4 separate regions of the Homo sapiens genome follow, and regions 2, 3 and 4 are each linked to region 1. Evidence: promoter capture Hi-C in 16 types of primary human blood cells and fetal thymus (Javierre and others, 2016). All regions are on one chromosome and are shown on one strand. The core of a region is centred on a gene start or on the middle of the fragment in contact, and the rest is flanking DNA. Distances in the headings are between cores, read along the strand shown.

Region 1 (3,085 bases), core at 564-3,063:
AAACACCATCAGGTAAATCAGCCCTCTATACAAGAAGATTTGGCAAATCAAAAGCATAAGATCAAATCTGTAATAATTAACTTTCTGAGTAAAATTACTGTGCTACAGCTTACTGCAACAAAGCCAAAGTATTACAAGATGGTATTATAATGACATCATTAGCTTGGTTTCCTAATAAAGCATATATCTGGGATATCTGAATTTACAATGCTAAAAACAGAGACCCAACATTTGTAGGAGGGAGTGGTAGGCAGTTCTTATTTATAATTTTTTTTTTTTTTTGAGAATGATGCCCGCTGCAAAACGAAGTAACAGAAGGCTGGCTCTGAAACACCACACTTCTTGGTCTTAACGTTAAAATGCTTTTCTAGAGCAGAAGGGAAAAAGAGTTATCAGTGCTTTCGTCCCACAAAAATAGTTCCTGTTTCACTAAATTTTACCACTGCCTTTAGAATTAGTAAATGAAAACGCCAACTTGTAGAAGCATTAAGTTAATGCGATTTAGAAATTAAATAGTAACCGGCCTCATCACACAGATAAGGTTAGGCTTCTTCAGCCAGGGGCAATTTCTGTCCTAATTGTCACAGCTGCCTTAATGCTGTACTTTCTGCGCTGTAGCTGCCAGGAGGCAGATAAGATTTTTCTCTCTGAATTAATTCTGGGAAAGGTGGCACTTTTTATAGGCCTTAAATGACCCTTTTCTAAGATTTTTTGTTGGTGGTGTCCAGATGTTCCAATAATACTGGAGAGTTAACTATTCCTTCCAAACCTGTGTCGTTCAAACTGCCTTGAGGAGAACGGGAAAAAAGTAAGGTTCACACTCGAAAAGTTTCACTCGGGGTGGGGTGAGGACGAGGTAGGAAGGAAACGACAGTACGTATCGTTCGTAACTATCGTACAATACGTATCGTTTCCGAAGCTAGACCGGCAGCTGGCACAGTCTTTCCCCTTTCCAGGTCCTGGGGAGAAACGTCTCTCGCTGAGGGGGCTAGACACCTACGACAGCCTCCTCCTCGGGAATCAACACAGCTCTGGATCGTGACACGCTTCCAGAAGTCCGTGACGAGTGGGGGCAGAAGACAGGTTCTTCGCTTCCCCTTCACCCAAACACGTCCCAAATTGTTCGAGGCAGGAAGAGCACGCCTCTCTCATCTCCCCAAGACCTACTCTCGCTCAGCTCCCTCGCCCTGTTTCCTCTGGGGGCACCGCCACCCCGCTCGGGACTCCCGCCTCTGGCCACAGCAGCCCCGGAGCGGCAAGGGGGAAGAAGTAACGGAGAAGCGCCGGCTAGAAGCGGCCGCCTCCGGCCGCTCGGCGCCAGCCTCGGCGGCCCGGGCTTGGAGGCGAGACGAGCCCGGGAGCCGCACGGGGCTTCTCCGGCTCTGGGCCCCGCGCCCGTCTCCGCTGCGGCCTAGCCGGGCGCCCACGCCCTGGCCTCCCGGCTCCGCGCCGCCGGCCTTTCCCCGCCACCCCGGGCCGAGAGGCCCCGCGGGGGCGGACGAATGGAGGTGGAGGGGCGGGGGCACCTACCAGCTGCTGCCGGATCCAGCGCCACATTCCCCCGTCGTCGCCGTCCGGGTCCCGCGGGGCGCGGGGGCCGCGGGGCTGCAGGTGGAGGCCGACAAGACAGAGGCGGGAGCGGGCGAGCCCCTCGGGCCGAAGTTCCGCTTACCGCCGCCGCCGCCACTGCCTCACTCCCCGCGCCGCGTCCCCATCCCGCGGCGTCGGCCCCGAGTCCTACAGGCGCGGCCCCGGCGCCGCCCCCGCCCGGCGCAGCTGAGCCTGCCGCCGCGCCGCAGCCACCTTCATTATTGACCGTTGTCACCCAAAGCACCCCCGCAACCCCACCCCCGCCCCGCCCCGCCCGGCCCCCCGGCTCCACCCGGGACCGCCCCCGGCGCCCCGGCCCGCCCCCGGACGTGACGAAAGGGGGTGCGCGGACCGAGGGGGGCCTGGCGCGCCCCGCCGCCGTTCCGAGTTGGGGGGTTTCTGTGTTGTGGGTCCGGGAAGAAGCGAGCGTGGAAAGGTGCCGGGTTCTCGAACGCTGTTTCTGTCCACTGCCACCCTCCTCCCCGTTCTGGGAGTGGGATTAAGTCGTGTCTGTGGGTCTGGCCATCTCCGGAGTCTGCAGCTTGGGGCCGATTCCTCGGTCTCTACCTCCTGTTGCAGGTCTTTTTCGGGCTCTGTGGCTTCTTTGGTTCACGCGTCTCCCGACACGCATACGCACAGTCCTGAACGTATGTGACTGAAAGTTAATCCCCCCAGAAGTCCCAGTTTGGGTTCCATCAAGCTGTAAGAGCTTTCGTCTCAACACAAGTCAGGCCTCTTCTTTAGCAAATGGCTGAGACGGGGCTAGGGAAATCTTGATCACACCCATTAAGTGATTCGAAAGCGTTGCAAGTCCCCTGAGCCTGGTACAGCCTGGACCCGTGTTTCTAGGCGAATGGATGAGATATTCTGTCTTGCCGTGTGCTAAATTGGACAGGTTCAGGGGAAGATAATTTGTATAAAAAGGTAGTTCTTTACTGCTAACTGCCAAACTTCTGCAATCAAAAACACCCGTAGCAGTAACTTGACCTAGGTTAAAAAAGTGTGTGGATGACAAGCTCAGAAGGAATATACAAGCAACTGGAACAAGGCTTTGACTTAAAGGTTTGGCGTTGTTTAAAAGCAGCCCCGTATACATATTGTGTTATGTATATGTATTGAATGCTGTATTTTTGCTGAATTAAAGCACACTTCACCGACAGACGTTTGTGGTTAAAAAAAAAAAAATTAAGCGGCCGGGCGCGGTGGCTCACGCCTGTAATCCCATGTAATCCCAGCACTTTGGGAGGCCGAGGCGGGTGGATCACGAGGTCAGGAGATCGAGACCTTCCTGGCTAACATGGCGAAACCCCATCTCTACTAAAAAATACAAAACATTAGCCGAGCGTGGTGGCGGTCGCCTGTAGTCCCAGCTACTCGGGAGGCTGAGGCAGGAGAATGACGTGAACCCGGGAGGCAGAGCTTGCAGTGAGCCGAGATGGCGCCACTGCACTCCAGCCTGGGCGGCAGAAGGAGACTCCGTCTCAAAAAAAAAAAA
Region 2 (3,411 bases), core at 31-2,530, 1.4 Mb before region 1:
ACAGACAGTCCCCTCCCTTGCTTCCTCCTCCTCACCGAGGACTGTTCCCTCTTTAGCAGTCCTGGAAGTTTGGTTCCACAGTCTGTAAGCGATAAGAAAAGCAGTCACCTTCTCCCTGAGGGAAGGGAAACTAACATTTTGAGTGACTAATAGGAACCAGGCACAGACACAGATGTTTTCTACAAAACCTTATAATACTGCAGATAGATGGCTATTATCTTCCCTGCACTAAAAACAAAACAAAACAAAACAAAACAAAACTCACGTAGAAGGATACAGAGGCATAGACAAGGCTGGGGACAGATAACCAACTCTTACAAGATCATGCAGCTGGTTAGCAAGTTGCAAAACTGGGGGTGAAAGCAAGTCTGTCCAGCTCCAGGCTCTTATGCTTCCTATCCTACCCAAGAGCTTGGAGGGAGAACCCTCCAACCTCCTCCCCACCCCCATCATGGGCTCTTCTGCCCTCGGTAAAGACATCAACTAGCTCCTACAACCTTGTCCTGTGGAAAAGACGTAGGAGCCCTAAGCTGCAGGCAGCAGATGGTTGGGGGCGGAGAAAAGCACAGGGGGGCAGTTAGTTCAACCTCCCCTCACTCTCACCGTAGTTCTCCGTTATCTTTGACAACTGGATAGGGGCGTCCAGTAGCACCTGGCTATTTCCCTGGCTTTGTGGCTCAGCCCTATGTGGGTAGGGATAGAAAGCGCAGAGTTAGGAGTTGAGGGAAAAGCTCTATGGCCATCAGATCTTCCTCCCCCACCTCTTGTCTCCGGACCGTTCGCCGTCCCTTCGCCCCCATCAACCCCTACTCCCTGGCACATACAGACGCAGAGTGTTGTACATGCGCTGGCACACGGCCCTGATGCCCGCGTCATCCTTGCTGTCCCCGGACACCTCTTGCAATAGTTCCCCTACAGCTTCCACCAGGTCATCCACAGACTCGAAGTCCGCGCTGCCGCTGTGCAAGACGCCTGGGCAGGGCGTGGTAGAACGAGGAAGGTATCGGGTAGGGTGGACACACAAGCAGTTTCAGACCCCAGACAGAGGCCCCAGTCCAGGCTCCAGACCCAACCAGCCCCCGGGACAAGAGGTCATGCAGAGGAGAGGCCTGGCAACAGTCCCGGGCACGACGCTCGCTTAGACTTTCCCCCGGCCTCCACTTCGGTCTCCCCAGCCGGCCGATTCAGTTCTGCTTACCGGTCACGTAGTCGAAGACTTGTCCGTCAATTTCGGGGAACTCGCTCCGCAGGATTTCGGCGCAAGTCGCCATGTTCCACTCAGGAACCCGTCCGCGCAGTCGCTGTGAGACCCCGGCCTAGGCCCGCCCCCCGCCCTGCCCCCGAAATCTCGCCCTTCCTTGCAAGGCGCATGTGTAGCGGTGACGCAGGAAAGGAGCGGAGTGCGCAGAGCCCGGTGGGCGGGGCGAGCGGGGCCTTGAGGAGAGGCGCCGAGTCTGCGCCGGAGCCGCGCTCTCTGCGCGTGCGCGACACCTTTTCCGCTGAAAGATTAGCCACATGTGCGGTTCTCGCTGCCTTCTGGGAGGTGGAGTTCCGGGAGCGAGGGGTGGGGCAAAGGCTGGGAGCTCAAGGTTTATCGGGGCCGCGAGGCACCCGTGGTCTGGCGGGTGGGAGCCTCCCAAGAGGCAGGCGGCTGATAAAGCACTTTGGCTTTGCCAGGTTTTATGCGCTCCCTCGAGGCGCGTCTGCTGCTGGTGCGTACCCAGTCAGGCCCATTTTGGAGCCTGCCCAGAGCTTTGCTGACTCACCCCGGTCCCTGACTCTCAGAAGCCCCCTGCTCAGTGCTTTGCTTTCGCGGGTCCCCAGACCCTACGGGCTTCTCAGCCTGGTGGCCAGCGCCACCCGCCTCCCCGCCGCGACCGCCTTTTCACTGTGTAATTCAGCCGACCTTTGTGAATTAAGCCCATTCAGTTCTTCCACCACCCCAGGGCACGACCAAATCCACCGCCAAAGGGCAAGAAAACCAGGACAACGTGGCCTGTATAAATTATTCCCTACCTACACCCTGAGCAGACTTCTCTGCACTCAATAAATGCCAATAAAAGGCTATTTCCTTTCACCGATTCCCTCGGGAAGTTAGGAATTTCCTCCAAAATGATGCTACTGCTTTATATTTAACGTGAATATTCCTCCAATTGGTCTCTAAAAGTGGCACCGAAAATTACATTATTACCCATTCATCCCTTTGGATTAAACATTGCCATCATGAGGCATCAATCCCGATATTGAACCATTTTACAGGAAATACAGGTAAAGAGGAATATGTTAAGTGACTTCATGGGGACAACAGGCAAATTCTGATGTGGTAAACTACAGAACTCTGGTTTCTTCCACAAAATTGCAAGACCTGAAGGGAAACATCAATTTTTAAAATTTGAGGAGCATTAACCAACCACAATGGACCTTATCTGGAAAAATTTGATAAGACACCTGGTTAAGTGAACACAAACTGGATGTGATATTAAGGAACTGGCCACGCATTGATCATAGTTGAAGCTGGGTGATGAGACATGGAGATTCATTATATTCTTTTTTTTTTTTTTTTTAATTTGAGAAGGAGTTTCGCTCTTGTTGCCCAGGCTGGAGTACAGTGGCGTGATCTTGGCTCACCGCAGCCTCCACCTCCTGGGTTCGAGCGATTCTCCTGCCTCAGCCCCCGAATAGCTGGGATTACCGGCATGCACCACCACGCCCGGCTAATTTTGTAATTTTAGTAGAGACGAGGTTTCCCCATGTTGGTCAGGCTGGTCTCGAATTCCGGACCTCGGGTGATCCACCCGTCTCGGCCTCCCAGAGTGCTGGGATTACAGTGTGAGCCACCGCGCCCAGTCCATTATGTTATTCTCCTTGCAAATCTTTCCTCCTACCACCCAGTCAGCAAGATTTGGGAAGCTTGGGTAAATGATGGAATTAAAAGGTCAATTTCTTAGGATGGCTACAAGACCAAATGTAAACTTCACACTTAATTTATGCTTAATCTAATTAGAAAACATCTGCCTAAGAATTAGAGAAAGAGCTGGGTGCTGTGGTGGTGCGTGCTTGTGATCCCAGCTACTCCAGAGGCTGGGGCAGGTAAGATCTCTTGAGCCTAGGAGTCCGAGGACCAGGGGGAATAAAAAGGAGCTAGGGAAAGAATCTATCCCCAGGGTACTGGGGCCCGCTGCGGCTGCATGCCCTTGAGGCTTTCTAAGAGGAGCCAGGAAACCTGGGCCCAGAACCCACAAGGATAAGGGCTTGGATGGCCCAGGAGGGGCCTAACTGGGACAAGACAAGGAAAGAGCCTTTAGAGTATTCAGTACAGAAAACTGCACGGAGAGCAACACCAGTTCCCTCCCCATGTAGCTCCCACATCAACACTAAGCCAGCAACTCCACTCTACAGAGTTTATTGGGT
Region 3 (3,112 bases), core at 353-2,852, 1.1 Mb after region 1:
TTTCTATAATTTTGCTGCCAATGTGGCAACAGCAGCCAGTTACTCTCACCAGCAGACTTGTCAGTGGTTTGTTTACTAGCTTATTTGAATTAAAATAAAGCTTCGCTTCTGCTGACTGCACATCATTATCTATGAGACCATAATCCTGCTAGCAAATCCTATATCTTCCAGAACTGGCTCTTTTGTTTGGGATTACTGAGAGCTTAGCCTATAACAAAGAGGAATAAGGCATCCCTCTCATCCTCATAATTAAGTGTGGGGACTAATTTAGAAACAAACCCAGAAAGATGTACTATTTGGAGTTATATTTCTTTACAGAATAGAGGAGAAACAGGATAGGCCAAACACCTGATTGTTAACAGAATGTTTAAACTATTAAGCAAGTGTACTACAGGAATCCAGCTTGTTAAAATTAAGAGCAACAGCAAATAAGGCATTGATGGCCTTTGCACGGGGCAGTAATTCTGTATGAGGGATCTGAAGGTATGTTTGGGAAGAGGAAGTATTAGGGTGTCAAGCTGGAGAAGATGTGCTGTGTCCTTTCTCAATGCCATTTATTGTCTTCTTTCATTTTTCTAACAGGCTGCACAATTAAGAGTTATTGTTATGAGCAGAACTGTTAACATGCTGAATAAAAATAAAAACTTTTTTTATTCACTAGAACAAATATAACTTTGGAAAATTGTCATTGGAAATGGTTAACATTTTACTTCCAAGGTGCATAAAATTTAGCAGAAAGAAAATAATAGGTGATTTCCTGGCCCTTTCCATGGCTCAAAACAAACCTCCATGTATTCTTATAGCCCAATTCTATCTGTGTTTAAGGAGATAATTTTACAAACAGGATGTATATAAAAACAGCCTTCACAATCTACCATCCATGTATAAACTGATGTCTGTTAAAGAAGAGAGAAAACACAAGGGTTGATTTATCAATGTCTTCAGCATTAATTGTCACAGATGGGAATTCTGAGAACCTCTGTGAAACCAAACCAGACTCCGGCGAATTATAAAGCAGGTCCTTAGACTTTAAAAACATTTAGGCAAAGTGACAGTTCAGAACATCTGTTAGCCTTCTGTCTGAGTATAAACTAGATGTCATGGAGTGCACAGCTGTAGGCATTTTAGGCTTTTTTGCCAACATCTGTCACAGCAGTACAATAATATAGGTAATTATCAACACCTTATATAAACTGTTTGCTATTTTAATTTTTAGAAAGAGTAAAATTAGTGTTACAGTCCTTGGCAAAAATAATTGAGATGAATATAATCATCTTTATCTAAAGATGAATAAATGATCTGATCATTCTTTGAAAAGCACACATTTTAAATATTTTCTGCAGCCAATATGGGTATTATATCATTTTTAAAAGCAAAAATTGTAAGCGATCTTGTTTTTGAAAAATAAAAAAAAAGACAAACCACAAGCCAAAGTAATTTAAGGGAAAAAGAAGAAAGAGGCCAATAATTTGCTATCCAGAGTAACCAAAGGTGATATGATTTGTGGTAAAAAGATAGCATTTGTTAATACCACACATTGTGGCATTGATTTCATCTTCATAAAAATTAAAAATTCCTTTTATAATATCATTATAGCACAATCTATAGTGGTGAATTATTTTAAAAATTGCCTTCCTCCTCTATCTCCTCCTGGTCATAGAATTTTTGCAGAAAAATGGCAAATAAACCTGTAACTCATATCCTGCCACCTTAGTTAATTTGAAAAGCTCTAGCTCCCCATATAAGTCTAAGGACCCTTTATTCCATTAATACCACCTGGATATGAATCATCTACAGTGGATGTCCTAAGATACTGGGCATTATTGTCTCATACCTGATTCTCTTGACCTATTCCATAGTTGTTTTCCAGTCTAAAGGACTCAAAGCAGCAAGACTATATTCCTAAGCACCTGTTCTGGGGAAGATGCCAGTCAATAATGTCTTATTGAAAGACCAGGTCCAGCGAGAGGAAATAAAGGAATTGAGCTGCAGTTGGATTTCATCATCTAAACATGCAATGTAATCTTAACCAATTCATTACACACCCCTTTTGTTTCCACTACAAAAGGGATGTTACCTTTGTCAGAGGTTGTAATTCCAGTATGTTCAAGCAAAGACAAGGGAGAAATTGAAAAAGTGCTATCAATTCTATCCACAGTCAGGAAGAGCCATAGGGTCAGAAGGCCATTGTCACTACCCCAGGTACAGTTCAGACTAGACCACAGATAGCTGAAGTTTCCATTGCACTAGAAAGGTATAATAAAGGAGAATCACAGAAAATACTGAATAAGAATCGGAGTAGGAAATCATTTTTGAATACATTTGGCTTAACACATATGAAGTTGAACCAAATGGTTGTCTCTCTTTGGGCAATAGTTGTGGATGCTTAAAAGTATGCTTTCTTAGAATAATCTTGTGGAGGAGGCAAATTTTATTAATAGGAGGTCAATAAGGCAAAAACAATGAATCACAAATTTCAGCATTCATAATCTAAAGGTCTACAAAGAGTTAAAGGGGAAAGAGAAGGAGGAAGTAAATATAGCTATAAAGGGCAGACAGCTTGGCCCAAAAGGAAGGATTAAGAATGAAGAAGGTGATAAAAGAAAAAAGAAAATGTGATAGATACTGACAGAGAATAAGGCCATCTGAGAGGGTGGGGGAGGAGCAAAGGAGGATATTGATTACCAAATGGAATATTAGGGACCAATTTAAAATTTAGGGACTGTGAGTGTTAATGCTTCCTAAAGAGTGTTCCCTTGTAATAAATGCGTCTTAGAGAAACATTTTAAAATAATACGTTAGTGGTATGGTTTTGAAGCCTGTTCAAGTGGATTCACTTGATACTTCTCAATGTTTTATTTCTTTACCAGTGAGGAAAACTCAGTGTATTTTGAGGTCTAGTAAAGGGGGAAAAAAAGAAAGTAAACCATTTTCCAAACAACTTGGAAAATATCTTATTTTAATAATGAATTTGACTCCTTAAGGACATTACTTTTTTTCATCTGGTTTTAAATATTTGGAGCAAAGTAATGAAATAAGGATATCTGCAAATATTAGATATTTGAGTGAACTTCAAAAATCATTCTTTACTAAAGTTAAGCTTATAAGAAAA
Region 4 (2,944 bases), core at 84-2,583, 1.9 Mb after region 1:
GTATAAAAATAAATATTTCCATTTTAGACCTTTTCAAAATTAACTTTCTACTATAAATCATATGTTGTCTTCTTGGGTCCACTGCTGGGCCATGACATTACTTTATGTGCTGTAACTTCATGTAAATTTCCTAAGGGGCTAGAAAGGCAAACCCTGTATTTAAGCAACCAATATATTTTTAATGTAACAAAATGTTAGTGTAAACCATATGAAACTGTCAATACTTAACCATTTCTGACCTACAAGAATGGAAATTTCTTATGGCTCAAGTCTTTAAAAATCACCTTACAAGCTTAATAAAGCTCTCTCTTGGATCATTTTTGTTCTAAATTTATTACTAAGGGCAAAGTCACCTTTTCTTTCCTTCAAAGGATTCCTAGAGCTGCAGAAGAATGTTGTGAGTCTGGCACAAAACTGACCAAACCCTCTGAATACATTTGGAAAAACAAAAAATGAAACTGGTTATCAGCTTCCCAACCTCCAGACTAACCTTGGACAAGCTAATAAAGTATTCACACAGTTAAGAAGAGGACACAAACCGTTTTGTGACTCTGAAATAATCTGTTTAAAAAGTATGATGGTAGAGCTCCCGGGCTGGTGAATCTATTGATGGGCTGGAAATGTGGCATGCTCAAAGAAGTCATGGAAGCTCTACTTTCCAAGCCCCTTCCCTCACCCCGACCTTGCCTCATGCATCTCTTTCATTTGGCAGTTCCTGACTTGTATCCTTTATAATAAACCAGTAAACAATCGAGCCTGACCATCTCTAAGTATGATTGAAGAATGACAGTTTACCTCTGCTATTTTGCACAATCCCAGAAAAATTTTAAGAAAAAGTGTTTATTGACCAAAAAATTACATTTCATAACTAAGGCGATCAGATATGAAGCAACCTAAAAGGATTACCACCCACACCCCCCCACCGGTATAAGGGAAAAATAGTGCAGGGAAGCAGATGTAGAAAACATAATTTAAAAATGTAAAAGTAAGCCTGCGCAGTGTCTCACGCCTATAATCTCAGCACTTTGGGAGGCCGAGGCGGGTGTTCACTTGAAGCCAGAAGTTCGAGACCAGCCTGGCCAACATCACAAAACACCATCTCTACTAAAAATAAAAAAATTAGCTGGGCATTGTGGCTCACACCTGTAATTCCAGCTACTCAGAGGCCAAGGCACGACAATCACTTAAAATCGGGAGGTGGAGGTTGCAGTGAACTGAGATTGTGCCACTGTACTCCAACCTGAGCAACTTAGTGAGACTCCATCTCAAAAAATAAAAAATAAAAAATAAAAAAATTGCCTAAGAAAAAAACACAAAAAAGATAAAAACTCAGGGCTGGGCACAGTGGCTCACACCTGTAATCCCAGAACTTTGGGAGGCCAAGGCAGGCTGATCACCTGAGGTCGGGAGTTTGAGACCAGCCTGACCAACATGGAGAAACCCCGTCGCTACTGAAAATACAAAATCAGCCGGGTATGATGGCGCATGCCTGTAATCCCAGCTACTAGGGAGGCTGAGGCAGGAGAATCGCTTGAACCCGGGAGGTGGAGGTTGTAGTGAGCCGAGATCGCACCATTGCACTCCAGCCTGAGCAACAGGAGCAAAACTCCATCTCAAAAATAAAATAAAATAAAAAAATAAAACTCAGCCATAAAATGCAAGGACTTCCTACACCAAAAACTGCACAAACAAAAAATAGACAATTCACAGAACAAGGGGTTAAGAGCCAACCAACTAATTTAAGTGATGTTCCCATACTACTATTCATTAAGGAAATGAGAATTCATGAGACATCAGTTTCCATCCACCAAGTTTACAAAACTGTACATATGAACAATATAATACAGTCACTTAATGTATGAAAAAGATACCTCCAGTGTTAATAAAAGTATAAAGTAATTCTGAAGACATTTTTGGAGGATGAAATGGTACATTTTAATACTTTTAAAAACATTAACCTCTTAGGAATTATACTACCAGACTTGCATAAGAATATTAACTTTAACTCTGGCATTGTTTTCTTTTGCTAACAGCAAAAAATCTGGTAATTTCAATGTCTTTTAATTTGATATATCCACACCAAATAATTTTGAGGTGGTTACAAAAAATGAGGTAAATTTAAATGAGAAGACACGAAAATGTTTGCTGTCCTAATTAAGTGAATACAAAAGTCACAAATATATAACTTAATCCCAATTTTTTTTCAACTTAAATATGTCCTTTATACATGCAAATAAAAAACTTACAAGAGAATCAACTCTGGTAAATGAGATTTAAGATAGGGTGGGTGGACAAGTACACCTACATTAAGATGGAAGGTTTACTTTGTACTTTATATAATTTTTTACCATTTCATTTTTTACATTAAGCTTTATTACTTTAAATTTAAAGAAGGGGAAGAGGCTTTCGAAACGTTACCTGGGAAAGCACTAACTCCGAATTTCTAAACACTCTACGTAATATGGATAAATCCTTAATAAACGGTGACAAAAAAACAAAATCCTATGGGTGGCAAGATTATGCTTAAACTTTTTCCTTATATTAATTTTTAAATTTTTCAAAAGTGAAAAAAAATCACATTTTAATTTCAGATAATGACTTACAAAATTCTAGAGAGCAAATTTGACCAGAGCTGAATCATAAAACATAACGTGAAATTTAAAAAAAACTCTAGATTCAATTTCTAAATCATTCAATCTCTAACACCAATGTCTTCTTCACAAAAGCGGAGGCAGACCACAGGGGTGAGCCAGACTGTTCAGGAACAGGGAAGGACCCTCCTGGACAGGAATGGAAAAAGTACACTGTAACAACACCCTCACCACCCCACCAAGAGTAGTTTTCCCTTTAATCTGAGACTTGACGCTACCAATTTTAAGTGTCTAAACAACAAAAAAGTGTAAGAAGCATTACTCTCAAAACTGAGTGCCACACATTTCTAATT

The links. Contacts are between HindIII fragments. The CHiCAGO score rates a contact against its expected background, and 5 or more counts as called.
Region 2: the fragment with the promoter of ABCF3 here is called in contact with the fragment with the promoter of ATP11B in region 1 in 4 of 17 cell types (neutrophils, fetal thymus, naive B cells and 1 more); the score reaches 12.0 in neutrophils.
Region 3: a contact is called between a fragment that was not itself captured here and the fragment with the promoter of ATP11B in region 1, in 1 of 17 cell types (M1 macrophages). The highest score is 6.2, in M1 macrophages.
Region 4: a fragment that was not itself captured here is called in contact with the fragment with the promoter of ATP11B in region 1 in 5 of 17 cell types (naive CD4 T cells, naive B cells, M0 macrophages and 2 more); the score reaches 7.6 in naive CD4 T cells.

Annotation. Positions count from the first base shown.
Region 1 is chr3:182,792,232-182,795,316 of GRCh38, reverse strand. ATP11B (ATPase phospholipid transporting 11B (putative)) reads right to left here and starts at 1,813. Exons shown (of 30, transcript NM_014616.3): 1 at 1,531-1,813. The coding sequence starts at 1,557. ATP11B-DT (ATP11B divergent transcript) reads left to right here and starts at 1,953. Exons shown (of 3, transcript NR_187316.1): 1 at 1,953-2,237. RefSeq lists a silencer at 1,229-1,978. The HindIII fragment of the contact is 13,212 bases long and covers 1-3,085 here.
Region 2 is chr3:184,184,068-184,187,478 of GRCh38, reverse strand. It overlaps ABCF3 (ATP binding cassette subfamily F member 3), which reads right to left and starts at 1,280. Exons shown (of 21, transcript NM_018358.3): 1 at 1,199-1,280; 2 at 825-972; 3 at 604-683; 4 at 36-82. The coding sequence starts at 1,271. It overlaps AP2M1 (adaptor related protein complex 2 subunit mu 1), which reads right to left. Exons shown (of 12, transcript NM_004068.4): 12 at 3,388-3,411. RefSeq lists enhancers at 976-1,295, 1,773-2,487. The HindIII fragment of the contact is 6,180 bases long and covers 1-2,912 here.
Region 3 is chr3:181,689,968-181,693,079 of GRCh38, reverse strand. The region is part of intron 5 of SOX2-OT (SOX2 overlapping transcript); the gene reads right to left. Among named protein-coding and RNA genes, the nearest start is that of SOX2, 20 kb to the left of the region's middle. The HindIII fragment of the contact is 3,000 bases long and covers 103-3,102 here.
Region 4 is chr3:180,937,237-180,940,180 of GRCh38, reverse strand. All of the region lies in intron 3 of FXR1 (FMR1 autosomal homolog 1), which reads right to left. Among named protein-coding and RNA genes, the nearest start is that of FXR1, 26 kb to the right of the region's middle. The HindIII fragment of the contact is 2,077 bases long and covers 295-2,371 here.